Regions from separate parts of the Homo sapiens genome. Here region 2 is linked to region 1. The links are contacts of gene promoters, found by promoter capture Hi-C in blood cells and fetal thymus (Javierre and others, 2016). All regions are on one chromosome and are shown on one strand. The core of a region is centred on a gene start or on the middle of the fragment in contact, and the rest is flanking DNA. Distances in the headings are between cores, read along the strand shown. Region 1 holds the start of PHF13 (PHD finger protein 13). Region 2 overlaps ACOT7 (acyl-CoA thioesterase 7).

What was found. The method cuts DNA at HindIII sites, captures the fragments that hold promoters and counts their contacts. A CHiCAGO score of 5 or more calls a contact.
Region 2: a contact is called between a fragment that was not itself captured here and the fragment with the promoter of PHF13 in region 1, in 4 of 17 cell types (non-activated CD4 T cells, naive CD4 T cells, naive CD8 T cells and 1 more). The highest score is 6.1, in non-activated CD4 T cells.

Annotation. Positions count from the first base shown.
Region 1 is chr1:6,611,991-6,616,845 of GRCh38, reverse strand. PHF13 (PHD finger protein 13) reads right to left here and starts at 3,115. Exons shown (of 4, transcript NM_153812.3): 1 at 2,741-3,115; 2 at 1-89. The coding sequence starts at 2,779. It overlaps LOC107984913 (a long non-coding RNA gene), which reads left to right and starts at 3,459. Exons shown (of 2, transcript XR_001737882.3): 1 at 3,459-4,154. RefSeq lists silencers at 1,927-2,386, 2,527-2,616, 2,787-3,566, 3,617-3,666. The HindIII fragment of the contact is 6,383 bases long and covers 1,014-4,855 here.
Region 2 is chr1:6,354,697-6,359,835 of GRCh38, reverse strand. The region is part of intron 1 of ACOT7 (acyl-CoA thioesterase 7); the gene reads left to right. Among named protein-coding and RNA genes, the nearest start is that of ACOT7, 37 kb to the left of the region's middle. RefSeq lists enhancers at 479-708, 729-778, 889-1,068, 1,769-2,736. The HindIII fragment of the contact is 6,351 bases long and covers 1-5,139 here.

The DNA.
Region 1 (4,855 bases), core at 1,866-4,365:
GGGATGTAGCCAGCATAGGCCAAGACAAAGGTGCAGAATTTGTTGAAGTCTTCCACGGTCCTGCGCCTCTTGCAACTGGGGGAGTATTCCTATTAAGGGGAGAGAAAAGGGAATGTGTTTGAAGGAGAGGCTTCCAGGCGGAATCACAGAAACAAAAGGAAGTAAGCTGGAACTTTTGTAGTCAATCACTCAAAAAATACCGTTAGATTTACACAGTCCACAAACAAGATACGGTAAGTTCAGGTCAAGAAATAACACTATTTTCAGAGAGCAGAAAGAGGAGTATTAAGACTTTATGCCAAGAATGCTGGGAAATCAGCTGGGAGATAAAAACTTCTACAAAAGTCTATTTCTTAGTGCTCATGTGGCATTTTCTGACTTTATCTATTAGTTTCCACAGGCCTATCAGGCGAAGCTCTAATAACTACTTTTTTGCTACAGATTTTCCATTCTGAGTATGAACTGCTGCAGCAGCAGCTGGAACTGATGTATGTTAAGTGATTTCAAAAATCAACCACTCGCCGGGCGCGGTGGCTCTCGTCTGTAATCCCAGCACTTTGGGAGGCCGAGGCGGGCGGATCACGAGGTCAGGAGTTCGAGACCAGCCTGACCAACATGGTGAAACCCCGTCTCTACTAAAAATACAAAAATTAGCCGGGCGTGGTGGCGTGCACCTGTAGTCCCAACTACTCAGGAGGCTGAGGCAGGAGAATCGCGTGAACCCGGAGGCGGAGGTTACAGTGAGCCAAGATCGCGCCACTGCACTCCAGCCCGGTAGACAGAGCTAAGATTCCAACTCAAAAAAAAAAAAAAAAAAAAATCAACCACTCATTCTCCAGAGCTCTCGGAGACCTGGACCCTGGAGTTCACTCCTGGCTGACCCTGCCAAGCTAGCGCCACCTGAGGACCCCTCTCTCGTGCTCAGAGGGTCCCCTCCACTGTCCCAGCCAGTCGGGATGCCAGGCACCCAACTATCTCAACTCACAATAAACCAAGAACCTTACTGCGAAGCTTAGTCTTACATTTAAACGGAATAGTGGAGGTTTTTGCTCGCGGGTCCCAGCCCCATTCCATCTAGAAACACCCATCACAAAAAGATATTTTCTCCTGAGAGAAGCACGGAGAGATGGAGCTCTTATTTGCTCCTAAGCAAAACAAGTGTGCCGTATTGCTGTTTATTCGCCCGGCACGTTCCCTGAGGTTCCTTTCAGTGCCTTGTCCGACCCACCCCCATCCTTCCCGAGGTGCTGTTACCCGGCCGCCACTCTGCTGGGGGAGAGCCGGTGGGGAAATGGGGGGCAGGGGTCTCGGGCCGCCCCTCCCGCCGCGAGGAGCAGGCGTGCGGCCCGCGGGTTTTCTTTCGAGAAAGTCGGTGCCCTTAGAAAATTATTTTCTCAACCTGGTTCAAGCAAACCTTCTCCTCTCCCACCCCCTTGGACCCCAGGGCCGCCCACGGAGCGGAGGCGAAGGCCCGCGTTGACCGCGCTCCCCGCACTGGCGAGCCTGCCCAGCCACGGGAACCGCGGGCCGCCACCCGGGCCTCCAACTCCCGCGAAGAACTTTTCTTTCGGCGGGGAACCAGCAGAAGTGGGTCAAAAACCCGAATGCCAAGTGGAGGGCGGCGACGGCCTCGGGCCGGGGGCGCGCGGGAGGCACCGGCGCGGGGACTGGGGGTTCCACGCCGCCCCCACACGGCCCACGCCGCCCGCCCCCCCGGCCGCCTCCTCGGAAAGCAGATGGCGGAGCGGCCCCCACCCGCCCTCCCGCGGCAGCCGCCCCCCGCGACACTCGGCCCCCGAAGGTGCGGGGCCCATCCCGCGAGTATGTGTGAGGGGGGTGCGCCAGGCAGGATTCCGGGGTCCCAGGCCTGGGGAGGCCCTGCGAACCCCCGGGGGCGGCAGCGAGACCGGCGGGCTCCGGCGCCGCCTCCCCTCCCCCACCCGCCCGCGGTCGCCGGACCCGCACCCCCGACCCCAACGAGCCTCGGCTGGGGGGAGGGGACCGCGCGGGGGGGAGGCCGGGAGCCCCGAGGGCCGATCCCCGGAAGGAGGGGGAGTGAGCCGGGGCGGAGCCAGCAAAGCCCGCGGGCGGGGGGCGGGGGCCCGAAGAGAGAGGCCAGCGCGCCGGGGGGCGGTGGGTGGGGGCAGGACTCGGGTCCCCAGAGCGGGTGGGGCCCCCGGAGGACGCGGCCCCCGAGAGCCGTAGGGGGCGGGGGCCGACTGGGCCCCGCGCGGAGTCAGGGGGCGGGGCGCGGGCCACCGGGCCCGGGGGATCGGGGGAGCAGCCGGGGGCCTCGGGAGCCGACCCCGGTCCGAGGGGGGCCTAAAACTCCTCGAGAGCAACCGGAGCCAGGGGCGGGCGGCGGCTCGGACCGCGTCCCCGGGGGCGGGGAAAGAGTAAGCAGGCCGGCGGGGAGGGGCTGGGGGCGCCGACAGGTCCCAGGTCGACGCGAGGCCGGAGAGGGGCGGCCCGGGGGAGAGAAATAGGCGCAACGGCCCTGGGGAAAGGGCGCGGGGAGGACGCGGAGGTCCGCGGAGGGGACGCGGAGGCGAGGCCCGGCGGAGAGGACCGAGCGCGGGCCCGAGCAGGGGGCGGGGGTTGGGCTCCCGGGGGGGCCGACGAGGGGAAAGCGGGGGAAGGGGAGGGCGGCGCTCCGGGCGACCGGGGGTCTGGCTGCCTGAGGACGGCAGGATCGCGGAGGGGGTGGTCGGGGGCGATTCGGACGCACAGCTTCACTCACCTCCGGGTGGAAGGCGGCGGCGCAAGAGTCAGAGTCCATGTTCCGGGCGGGGGGCGGCGGCGGCTGCGAGAGTGCAGGAGCTGGGATGCTGGAGCGGGGCCGCCCGGGGCTGGGGGCTCGGGCGGCTGCGCAGGGCGAGGGCGGACCCGGGAGGGGTCGCCCGGGCTGGAGGTGATGGGGGGCTCAGCGCGTCGCTTCTCAAGCTCTGTGACCCCGGACTGGCGGTTCCACCGCCGACCGGAGTGGACGATGCAGCTCCCGCGGCGGTAGAGGCGGGAGAGTGGCTGCAGGGGGCGGCGGCGGCGGCGGTGAGCGGGAACCCGACCGGCTCCCCGACCTGACGCCCAGTTCGGCTCGTGTCTCGGGAGGGAGGGCGGGAGAGCCGGGAGGCCTGTCGGGAAATGTAGTCTGGGTGGCGACTGGAAGCCAGCGGCGAGGGGGCGTGGCGCGGGAGGCGGGCGCGGTGCCTTGTGGGAGTGGTAGTCCAAGGCCCCGCCAATACTGCGCACAAAGGAAACCTTGGGGACTCCAACCCCCATGAGGCTCCGCGGCGGCGGCCCCGGTGTGTGGAGGCGGGTCTTCTGGACTCGAGGCCGCGCGAGCGGGGGAGGTGCGGGGGCCCGCGCCGGCTCGGCCGCGGGGGGAGGGGCAGTGTGAGCGGTAGCGCCTTGGTCTCGGCGGGCGCGGGGGCGGGAGTCGCTGCGGCGGTGGGGGCGGGGCTGACGGCCCGGGTTGCGAAGGGCGGCGGCGGCTGGCACCTACCCTTCCTCGTCTCCTACTTGGGGTTCGCGCCCCTTTGTGGGGCGGGGGTCCCCGAGGCCTGGCCGGGAGTAGGGGCGGCAGGGGCGGGGACGCTGACGTCGCGGCCGCCCCGGGCATCGCTCCCCGCTCCCCGCTCCCCGCTGAGGGCGGAGTCGCCGCCCGGCCCCCGCTCCAGGCCGGGCTCAGCGAAGTTGTTTTCGCGGCTGCGGGCTTCGTGCGGCTCCCTGCTCCGGGCCCGCGGGGCCGGGACTGGACCGGGCTCTTCTCTAGGCATCTGCGGGATTCACTCGAGGTGGCCGGGTTCGTGCATTAAAAACACCGGGCCAGCGTTGTCAGTGTTCTAAAGAGGTGTGCGTTCAGTTTGCTTTCTGTTGCCGCCTAAGCCTAACCTTGGGACCGGCCGTTTTCCCACTCTCCTGAATATCCTCCGGCCCGCAGGGCGAGGCGGAGACGCGGTGTTTGGCGCTGGCATCGACTGGTACTTGTTTAGTGGTGTTTAACTGGGATGGGCAGTGTGTAAACGCTGGACCGCAGAGTATCCGACAGCTGTACGTGTGGAAGGCTGGCCGGACACGGTGGGGACTGCCCCTATGCGGTGACCAAAAGGCGGTCTGACGGGAACATTTTTAATATTCGAAAGTGGGGGAAAAAGGTAAGTACAAAACGCAGATGATTCAGTAACCTGTTTGGTAGCTTCGAAGAAGTTAAAGGGGAGTGACACAAAATTGAAAATTCAAATTAGAAAACGAACTCTTGGAGATACTAGTAAGATATTTGACAGGCGCCGAATGCTCCATCAAGCTGGCTGTTGCTATTTCAAGGGTTATGATCATTCTGATGAAGATATTTAATAGTTAGGAGATGGTGTTAATCTTAGAAATACTTCTCTGAGCGGCCGGGCGCGGTGGCTCGCGCCTGTATTCCCAGCACTTTGGGAGGCCGAGGCGGGTGGATCACGAGGTCAGGAGTTCGAAACCAGCCTGACCAACATGGTGAAACCCCGTCTTTACTAAAAATACAAAAATTAGATGGGCGTGGTGGCGGACACCTGTAATCCCAGCTACTCGGGAGGCTGAGGCGGGAGAATTGCTTGAACCCGGGAGGCGGAGCTTGCAGTGAGCCGAGATCGTGCCACTGCACTCCAGCCTGGGCGACAGAGCGAGACTCTGTCTCAAAAAAAAAAAAAAAAATACTTCTCTGAGCCTCAGTTTCCTAAGCTGTTAAATTTTAGCGTAGTGCCTGGCTAAATAAATGGTAGCTTACTGTTGTTGTTGTTGTTGTTGTTTTATTATTTCTGCAATATTGTAGCCCATTGGAGGGCTTCCCAAAGGTGATAAATTGAGGTACTTTACA
Region 2 (5,139 bases), core at 1,132-3,631, 260 kb after region 1:
CCTGGTTGAGGCTGTGCGGCCTGCACTCTGGCTGGGGACTTTCCATTTCCCTTGCTGGTCACAGGATTCCTGGGAAAGCAGCCCTGGTGGGGGCAGCATTGGGGGAGGTTGTGGTGATAACACATCCCGCCTCCTGCACTGGGCCTCCTGTAGCCTGCACCCTGGCCGCTGTGATTGTTTGGCCTCTTTCTTTCTTCCTGACACCCAGTAGAAGGGGAGGCGGAGTGAAGAGAGTACGGGTTGGGGGGCACAGGGCCCACAGGTGGCAGCCGGCAGCCTAAGAGCCCGCGGGAGTGGAGGAAGGGTAGTGGAGTTGCTGAGCCCCAAGACAGGCATGGCATCCTCTGAAGCAGGGGTTGGGGGAAGGAAGAGGGGGAGTGGGGAAGGACAGGGGTGTGGCCTGAGGAGAGGGGAGGCTGGACCGCCTGTCCACTTTGCTTCAGCCAGGGAGCTGGCCCTTGGGACAGGCTTTAGATGCCAGCTCCATCAGCAGGATGCAGGCTTGGACCTGCTGGAGTCCTTGCTGGCCTGTGACCTTCCTCCCCTGTCTACATTTCAGGGAGCTCTAGAAGGCGGCAGTGGGGCCAGACCTGGCTTTGGCTGAGACCCTGGAGAAAGACTAGGGGGTCTTGTGCCCTGTCAGAGAAGGCAGAGCCTCATAGCCGCTTCCCTGAGGCCGCTCAGCAGCGGCCCCTCTGCCTTCCTGATCTCCTGGCATGGCAGCCAGAAGAGCTCACAGAATTACTTCTTCTGTAATTATTTATAAAGCAAGGTTTCCATGACGACCGGTTTCTGGTAGACGCTCTGGATTGGCGAGGCAGCCTCTTCCTGGCCAGATTGGGCAGCTCAGGAAGCTGGGGGTGGGGGGTGCTCCCCACCAAGCCCGGTGTGGCAGGGAGCTGGGACAGTCCTGGGTCAGGCAAGGACTCTGTGATGCTTCCCTGCTCCCTCGCCTTTCTCTGCATCTGATCCTGGGATGTCCTAGCCACCATGGCTTTCCAGCTGAGCAGGTACTGCCAGTCATGGGCATGTCTAGGCCGTGCAGGGGCCACTGTGGGTGGATTGTTTAGGGACATTTGGAAGGGAAGGGTGGGTAGAGGGGACTCGGCCCCTGTGCCCAGCAGGCTGGCTGGTGTCATGCAGCCAGGAAGGGCAGTAGGGCACCCACCTGGCCTGGCTCTTACTGACCCCCAAGATTAGGTGGTCAGCCGAAGCTGGGATAGGAAGTGCAGGCCTGCGTGAGCTGGGGTCCCCTGACGGACCAGGGCACTCCCCTGCCTGCTCTAGTCCCCAGGGAGGAAGGCACCTGGTTTTCTTTCCAGCCTTGCTCCTGTGGCTTCCCTCTGCTCCCTTCAGCTGGGCTGGGTTCACTGCGGTTTCCCAGCGCTGCTGAGCTTCCTACCTGCGGTGGAGGGGGGGTCTGTGGGCTGCACAAGGAGCCTCCTGGGTCAGTCCCCTGCCCCTGGCCAAAATGGAGGCTGGGAGCTCAGGGCCATTGTTGGCCTCTTCCCCCGTCCTGCTTGGGGGCCTGCAAGTGCTGCTGGAACTTTCCTTGGCACAGCCCTTCCTCCCACCCTTCCCTCTTCTGGAGATGCAGTGGCGTGTCTGTGGGTTGAAGGGACTTCGCCGGAACTGCCTTAGGCAGCAAGTCAAAGAGGAGAAGCAGGGGCCAGACTCTGTGACTCACGCCTGTAATCTCAGCACTTTGGGAGGCCGAGGCAGGTGGATCAACTGAGGTCAGGAGTTTGAGACCAGCCTGGCCAACATGGTGAAACCCCCGTCTCTACTAAAAAATACAAAAATTAGCCAGGCATGGTGGCACGCACCTGTAATCCCAGCTACTTGGGAGGCTGAGGTAGGAGAATCACTTGAACCCGGGAGGTGGAGGTTGCAGAGAGCCAAGATCACGCCACTGCATTCCAGCCTGGGTGACAGAGCGAGACTCCCTCTCAAAAAAAAAAAAAAGAGGAGAAGCAGGGCTGCTTGAGCTTCTGTTTGGCAGAGTCCCCCATGGAAAGAGGAGGCATTTATGTGTGCTTGTGCCTGGACTTTGAGGCCCCACACCCATCCACGTGCCTGTTTTGTCCCTCAAGGCTGCCTGGTGTGAGGCCCCCGCCCCCCATGCCATAAGGAGACCCGCTTCTCCTTTCCTTCCGGGAAGGGCAACCCCTGTCCCTTGTCTACTCCTGGCCAAGGCAGCCTCTGCTGAGCTCCTGAAGGAAGCTCCGAGTGTCTGCAGGCCCCAGGTGGTGGCCCCCAGCCATGAGTGGCATCTGCAGCCCTATGACTGGGGACAGTCTGCCCAGACACCTCTGTCCCACCCAGCTTTCCAGCTGAGGTGAGGGTGGAGCACACGCACCTGGTGCTTGACCTCTGGTTTGAGGCCTTTGTCAGAAGGGGGCAGTAATGAGCCGCCTGCCCTGCAGGCCCCGTGTGGGCCTGACCTGCCTATACCCCAGACCCTTACCTGGCTGTGCACCTTCAGGTGGGCACTTTAGCTTCCACCATGGAGTAAAGGAAGCAAGGCTCACCTACCCCTGGTTACCCTGGGTTTCACGTAGTAATGTTTTCATTTTAGCACTGACTTTTTTTTTTTTTGAGGCGGAGTTTCGCTCTTGTTGCCCAGGCTGGAGTGCAATGGCGCGATCTTGGCTCACCACAAACTTCGCTTCTTGGGTTTAAGCGATTCTCCTGCCTCAGCCTCCCAGGTAGCTGGGATTACAGGCATGTGCCACCATGGTTGGCTAATTTTGTATTTTTAGTAGAGACAGGGTTTCTCCATGTTGGTCAGGTTGGTCTCAAACTCCTGACCTCAGGTGATCCACCTGCCTCAGCTCCTAAAGTGCTGGGATTACAGGCGTGAGCCACTGCGTCCAGCCACAAAAGTGTAGTCGTCGTCGTCCTTTTTTTTTTTTTTGAGACACAGTCTCACCCTGTGGCCCAGGCTGGAGTGCAATGGCATGATCTTGGCTCACTGCAACCTCCGCCTCCTGGGTTCAAACAATTCTCCTGCCTCAGCCTCCCAAGTAGCTGGGATTATAGGAGCCTGCCACCACGCCCAGCTATTTTTTTTCTATTTTTAATAGAGACGGGGTTTCACCATGTTGGCCAGCCTGGTCTCAAACTCCTGACCTCATGATCCGCCCGCCTCGGCCTCCCAAAGTGCTGGGATTACAGGTGTGAGCCACTGCGCTTGGCCAGCACTGACATTTTTGTGTCAGAGTCAGAGACACTGGTGACACTCCCAGCTGGTCGTGTGCTGGGCTGTGGAAGGGGCAGGCAGGGTTCAGTGCCCTGCAGGGCTGCTGCCAAGGTCACCGCACAGGGGCCTGTCCAGGGCTGGCCAGGTGTGGGTGGCAGGTGCTGAGCTGGGCTGAGGGTGCTGAGCGGGGCTGAGGGTGCTGAGCTGGGCTGAGGGTGCTGGGCAGGGCTGAGGGTGCTGAGGGTGCTGCCGCTGCTGCCTCGGGGCTCCCCTGTGCCACTCAGTGCTGCTTTCTTTGGGAGCATCAGAGACCTCCGGGCATGGCCACAAACCAGGTGGCAGGTGACAACCGGAAGCAGTTTCCTCAGGCTGGAGACCAGCGGTGGGCAGGGCCATGCTCCCGAAGGTTTGACGGGAGGCTGCTCCCGTCTCTGCCTTCATCTTCACCTGGACCTCCTGTGTCTCATGTCGAGACTTCCCTGTTCCTATAAGGACACCAGTCATTGGGTTAGGGCCCTTCCTAAGGCACGGCGACCTCATCTTGATTGTATCTGGATGCAAAGAACTCTTTTCAAGTAAGGTGACATTCATAGTTTCTGGGGGTTCGTTCTCAAACACATCTTTTGGGGGACACAATTCAACCCAGTACTCAGGCTCCATGTGGCTTAGGTGGGACTCCACCTTGAGAGGACCCCAGGGCACAGGAGGCATGGCCAGCCCTCAAGGTGAGGCCAGGGGGCAGGAGCGGCTCCCCTCCCTGCCAGGCTCCCCTCAATTGTTCCAGGCGCCTCACTCCCGCTGCGGAACAGGCTCGGGCTGTCCTGCGAGGATGTGGGCTGGACCCCAGGGCCGCTGCTGTAGGCGCTCTTGGGATGAGTGCTGGCCGGCCTCTGGTGTGATGAGATCTGAGTTTTGAGCTGTGCCTTGAAGCGTTTTCAAAGAACACTTATTAATTTGAAAGGGTTGAGATGGTTTAAAGGCATCCAAAAGACACAGGCATCTCACCGAGGTCCCTGCCCAGTAGCTAGTTTCTTCCTCTGGGGGCCATGGAGGCCTCTGGTTTGTCACACCTCCTTCCTGGAATGGTCGTCCCTGCGCCCCAGGTGGTCACCTTGCTCCCATGGCTCTGTGCCTTGCTGTTTTTCACCTGACAGCTGGTCTCTGAGAAGGTTCCTCCTCCTCGTGCAAGGCTGAGCAATATTCCAATGTGTGGCTGTTGCTTTTATGTCCTTATGTGGACATCTCGGCGCTGGCCCATGTCCTGCGTTATACACGGCTGTGCAGTGAGTACCCTTGCAGTGCTTCGTTTAACCGTGTGTGGAAACAGCTGTGGGGTAAATTTCTGCGAGTGGAATCCTGGGTCAGGGTGTCCCTGTGCATCTGGGGTTTGGGTGGGTGGTGCCGGGTGCCCTCTGTGAGTGGGTATTCGCTTACACTCCCCTATTTGTGAATGGTTCCCTGTCCTTCACAAAGGGTGGGTCAGGCGTTGCTGGGACAGGTAGAACGGTGGGAAGGGCCAGGCGTGCCTGCTAAGCAGCAGTGCTCTGGCAGGTGCAGGTCGGAGCCCCGCAGGGCAGTGAGAGTTGAGGCGGAAAAGTTCCCAATCCCTGAGAGCTCCAGATGCCTTACTAGGAGATTGAGTCTTTATTCTGTAGATGGGAAAGGCCCTGGAAGGTATGGATAAGGGAGTGACTTGGTCCTGGGGCTGTGCAGTCGGGGCCAGTTAGGATCTCAGCCAAGGCAAGAGGCAAGTGCAGAGGCCATGGGGGGTGAGGGGCAGTGCAGAGGCCATGGGGGGAACAAGAGGCCAGTGTAGAGGCCATGGGAGGGCTAGAGGCCAGTGTAGAGGCCATGGGGGGGCTAGAGGCCAGTGTAGAGGCCATGGGGGGGCTAGAGGCCAGTGTAGAGGCCATGGGGGGGCTAGAGGCCAGTGTAGA